Regions from separate parts of the Homo sapiens genome. Here region 1 is linked to region 2. The links are contacts of gene promoters, found by promoter capture Hi-C in human tissues and cell types (Jung and others, 2019). All regions are on one chromosome and are shown on one strand. Each heading gives the region's core, a stretch centred on a gene start or on the middle of the fragment in contact. The rest is flanking DNA. Distances are from core to core; before and after follow the strand shown. Region 1 has its middle 70 kb from the start of DEPDC1. Region 2 holds the start of LRRC7 (leucine rich repeat containing 7).

Region 1 (2,700 bases), core at 82-2,581, 1.0 Mb after region 2:
TACACAGATCAAAACATAAAAATCTCAACTTTGTTCAGTATACTTAATGGATATAAATTGTCAACACCACAGATATAATTTGTTTACTATTTTCATACCTTCCAGAGTTATTGCTTTATTTATATTGCTATTTTCTTAGGATTTCTGAAGCATTTTGATTCCTTCCCAAAGAGTAATCATACCGGGTTTTAGGATCCAGTTGGGACATATAACCTGTTTGCTTAGTATAAGTGATTCAAATGAACTACTGATCATTAGATAGAGGCCATTTCTAAAGTGAAGATTTACTTGTTAAGACATGAATTTTAAAATTTCTGTCAGTTGGTGTTAATTATCAGAACTTAGTAGCTTTCCCAAAATGATGGATTCTTTTAATTTTGCATGGCTGATAGACCCTAACTCATTGTCTTTTTATTATGATATATCAGTATGGTCATTTTGTATTTTCAATGCATGCACTTACTATGAATGTTTTATCATAATTGCCAGAACCACGTATACATTTCATCTCATAAGACATAAGGAATTAATCTGCATAGTTAGCTCTCCTAGTCAGGCTATTTGGCTAACTTTTCATTTTGGAACATCATGCTGAACTTTCTTTACAATAAGGAGTCTTCAACCCATTAATATAGTACTGTTTATCTTTTTCTATATTCAGGTATTATTTAATAATGTCTTTTAATAAGGTCTTGGATTTTTCTCCATAGTAATCTTAAACTTTTTTATTATATTCAAAACACTGTTGCTATTGTAAATGATATATCCTTAAACTACATTTTCTAATTAGTTGTGGTGAGATATAAAAACAAAATTGACTTAATATCAATATTCTAACTTGAAGCCTTATAAAACATTAATTTTAATAATTTATCTCTAGATTTATTTTTTTACATAGATAATAATATTGGCTACAAGAATTTAGTTTTTCTCCTGTGTATTCCAAATGTTATTCTTCTTATTGAAATGACTGGTAGCTAGTTAAATGTTAAATTAAAGTGGTGATATCAGGCATCCAAGTCTTGTTCTTGATTTTTACAAAATTATCTTAGAAGTGATGTTTGGTGTAAATTTTTGTAGATACCTTTATTAGGATAAGGAAGCTCTCATCTATAATTTGCTTTCTAAGAGGTTTTTAGACTATTGATTTAGTGTTTAATTTTTTATTATATTTTATATTTTGAGATGATTACATCATTCTTGCTCTTTAAATTATTCGAGTAAAATACTTTGATTTTCTAATTCTGAAGCTCTACTAAATTCCTAGAATAAATCCAATTCAATGATGATGGATTACCTTTCGATAAATTCTATTCACTAATATTTGTTTATGTTTGCACATTTCTACGTGAAATGGGCCTAAAATTTTTTCTCATTTTTTTTTTCATTTGGTTTTGGTATCAAGGTCTTACCAATCTCATAATATCAGTTGAGAAATGTTAGATGTGCCAATTATGCCAAATGTAGATGTGCCAATTGTTTTATACATATTTAAAACTAGATATTAAGTGCATGTAAGTCGAGTACCGTATTTTCATAGGGAAGAAAAACTGTTATCAAGGTATGCTGATTTTTTTTTCATAATGCTCTGTCTTAAATTCTGTTTTGTCTGATATTTAAGTAGCAGGCTGTTTATTTGAAAGGTTTGGATCAAAGTAAAATAGATAAGAAATTCCAAAGCAAAAGGCATACCAACATCTAGATTTTCAAATGATGCACTGAGAACTAGTTTTACATATCTAAAGTCATTTGCATACAAAGAGTATCAAAACATATCAAGAGTGACAAGTAGGTATGATTTAATAAGGATGATTTTGAAGTTATTCAGTACACTGCTAGGAATCCACTCCCCTCATCTCACATTAGCCACCACAGGCGAAAAAAAAATATGTTGGAAACAGTTCTTCATGAATATTTCATGTTTCTACATTCATAGATATTAACAACCTATTCACTTCATTACTAATTTTTCAGAAATATTTTCAAGTGGCCCTGAAAGAAAAGAAACAGAGATTCACTCTGGAACAAATTTATTTACATTTATGAATAATAAAGAGAGACATCTTTCCTAGAGACATCACAGGATAATAGAGATGCCTCCCTCCTCTCCCCAGAGATTTTTGCTCACAGTCTAGGGTAATATAGATAATGTTTCTCTCCAGAGAGGATATGGAGTTTGTGGGTTTGTTAGCAGTCCCTTATAAGACTGGGTTTACCGAAGATCAGTGTTCCTCAGTTTTGATGCAGACCCACTGTGGATGCGGAATCTACCTGGATCCACATCCAGATAACCCCCTGGGGACTTGAAAGAAAAGGAAAACTCATGCGAACATGAAGGTCATTCTAGCTGCTGTGCTGTAAATAACAAACTCTGAATCTTTTCGGATTCATTGTGTGCTTGTCAGCCAAAACTATAGAAGTCTAGCAAGACAAGCTGGCATCTGTCATCACACTGCTGTTTTGAAACTATTTGAGAGGAATTTCATGTCTGCTAAAGCTAAAGAAGGCTACGGAAGCTTTAGTAACTTGTCCTCTACAAAAGATACCTAAGTCCCAGAGATCATACATGAAAATGATGATTGGAATATCAGTATGAGATCATTTTCAAAGACTCCTAGCCAAGAGTGTTTATTGCTAGGATAAGATGACCCTAACAGAAAGGAAATATAGAAAGTAACATCAGGGGCACATTATGAAAGG
Region 2 (2,721 bases), core at 199-2,698:
GCTTCTCGTGCCACACAAAGGAGATGTGTGGGCAGGAGTTGTCTAGCTGACAGGGAGGGAGGCAAGGTTCTCCCTGACTCCCAGGGAACACGCTCCCCCACTTCTTTCCGTCCTCCAGTCTTTCATGTTCCTTCGTCCCCTCCATCCCCCCAAACCCCACCCTTTCCCTTCAATCCCAATCACATAAAAATCTTCTAATTGTATTTTTTCAAACAGACATCGAGACATTGATACAACACCTTCCAAGATAAAGAGACAAGTGCGTCCTGCCACAAGTGTGTGTGAGTGTGTGTGTGTGTGTGTCACGATCAAACACGCGCTTCATCCCTCAGACACCTCTGGGAAAAAAGCTGACTGGAGATACCCAAGATAATAACGAGGAGCTAAACCTAATTTCAGCGGAACCAATGGTCCCAGCACCAGCGCCCAACATTTACCTTTCCTTTTCGCAGTATGTAACCCTTTAAGGTCTCTTGCCAGCTCAAGCTACTCGGTGCTCCCATGCACCCGCCCAGTTAGCACCCCATTTCCAAATGCTCTGCAACCTACCACATCTTCGCCGCCTCCCTCGGCCACCGCACAAGCAGCTCCCCGCGAGCGCCGAAGCCTCCCGCCCTGCCACCCCCGCCCCCGGCCGGCCTCTGGGGTCCCACACCTCGCGCGCCTACGGTCGCCGCGGCCGGGCCCCCGCAGCACCCTCCGCCACGGAGCGAGCGTGCCTTACTCACATCGCCGGCGGGAGAAACTGCCCATGAGGTTTCGGAGAGCGTAGTCGTGCAGCTGCCAAGGGTTATTCCTTAAGTGTTCAGGGGTCCGCAGTGGAGTGGGCGCCAGGGTCTTCGGAGGAGAAGAGGAGGGAAGGAGTAGAAGGTAGGAAGAACAGGAGATAGAGGGGAATCCAGGAAGGTGCCACGTTAGACCATGATGCCAGTGCCCTTCAGGTGGACGGCTGGAGAGGTTCCCGCGGGAAGCGGCTGAGGGGAAGCCCGAAGCGCCGGCGGGGGAGGCAGGAGCGCGTCCACTCCCCAGCCTCAGCCTGCCCAGCGCGCCGCGCTAGCGACCGCAGCAGCAGCGGCGGCGGCGGCGGCGGTGGCGGAGGCGCAGCTCCCTCCCCGCCCCCAGAAGGCTCCACAGACAATAAATCCTGGGCGGAGAAGAGACAAGCAGGAAAGGCGAATCCTGCACCCAACTCCGTAACAACCCCTGCCCGTTGCCGCGCCTGTGCAGGGCGAGGATCCCCAGGGGCCAGGGCGCAGCGGGCGTCTCGGAGGGGCTGAGCGCTCCGCAACTGCAGGAGGCGGTGGCGGTGGCCCGAGTGGGCGGCTGCAGGTCCCGCCGGCGAGAACCCGCTGCACTGGGGCTGGGTGTCCGTGGCTTCAAGCCCGGTGTTCACCCGGAGTAGGGTCCTCCTCGGTGCAGTGGCTCGGCGCACAGGTGCCAGGATTGGCAGGCGAGGAGGCGCCGCTCATGGCTCTTGGCTGTGTCTCACCGCTCTCCCCGCCCCCTCTCTTTTTTCCCACCCCCTTTTCCGACGACACCAGCTGCAGCTGCTTCAAAGTGTGAAAAATGTCAAGGAGATTTTCCAATGATAGGAGGGGGTAACCATGTTCACAACCCTCGGTCTCTTTTTGAGATCCTCGCCTGTCCCTCTGACCTCTACTCCGGCTCCCCCAAATTATGAGAAGAAAAATCCCAGTCCTGCACAGGATTGAAACGCTAGCCTTCTCCCGGCTCCGTCACGATAGGCTGCTTTTCGAGAACGGGACGAGAGGCCGAGCTCTCTGGGTTCCTCTCGCCTCCGTGGTGTTCGAGGCAGGTGGCACGAATCTCAGCGCGGGGCGGAGCGCGGCTGCCGGCTCCTCCCGCTCGCGGGCCAGCCCCGGGCGCTCGGGCAGCGCGGCGCGGCTTTCTGCAGCGCGGCCGCCTGAGCGGCAGAAGCGGCTCCCGGCCTGTGCGCCTGCCTGAGCGCCCCTGCACCCGCACTAGCTCAGTGACGCTGAGCTCGTGGCTCCTCAGGCTGCTGCTCCTGCTATCTCAGCAAAGAGGCGGCCGGGAGCGCCTCCTCGGGGTTTCCTCCCCCGCCCGCCTTGCCTGCTGCAGGTTGTTGGCTGCCAAGGAGAAAAGTCTCCGCTTGTGCGTCAGGTCGCTTCACATCAGTCATGGCAGCGAACCTTGTGCCTGCTCTTAAGTCCTCTCCTCATTCTGGGGTTGCGGCTGCTGCCCTGGGAGTGCACAAAAAGGGAAGGGTTTTCCCAACTTCCCTTCATATATTCACCGCCCCTCCTCCTGCCATGAACATTCTCTCTGACACACACACACACACACACACACACACACACACACACACACACTCTCTCTCTCTCTCTCATATGCTCCCTTACGTAAAGGCACACACACTTTCTTCTTATACGCTTCTCTAAAGTCCCAGAAGCAGCAAGACATATCAATGAAGCTAGTACTATATTTACACTTTTTTTTTTTTTTTTTGAAACGGAGTTTCGCTCTTGTTGACCAGGCTGGAGTACAATGGCGCGATCTCGGCTCACTGCAACCTCTTCCTCCCCGGTTCAAGCGATCTTCCTGCCTCAGCCTCCCGAGTAGCTGGGATTACAGGCGCGTGCCACCACGCCCGGATGATTTTTTTTGTATTTTTAGTAGAGACGGGGGTTTCACCATGTTGCCCAGGCTGGTCTCGAATTCCTGACCTCAGGTGATCCACCT

What was found. The method cuts DNA at HindIII sites, captures the fragments that hold promoters and counts their contacts. A contact is called where the count stands out against the background at its distance.
Region 1: a contact is called between a fragment that was not itself captured here and the fragment with the promoter of LRRC7 in region 2, in 1 of the 25 tissues and cell types used here (dorsolateral prefrontal cortex).

What each region holds. Positions count from the first base shown.
Region 1 is chr1:68,565,686-68,568,385 of GRCh38, reverse strand. No RefSeq gene overlaps it. Among named protein-coding and RNA genes, the nearest start is that of DEPDC1, 70 kb to the right of the region's middle. The HindIII fragment of the contact is 3,377 bases long and covers 1-2,700 here.
Region 2 is chr1:69,566,649-69,569,369 of GRCh38, reverse strand. It overlaps LRRC7 (leucine rich repeat containing 7), which reads right to left and starts at 1,448. Exons shown (of 27, transcript NM_001370785.2): 1 at 729-1,448. The coding sequence starts at 730. RefSeq lists a silencer at 1,795-2,024. The HindIII fragment of the contact is 6,759 bases long and covers 1-2,721 here.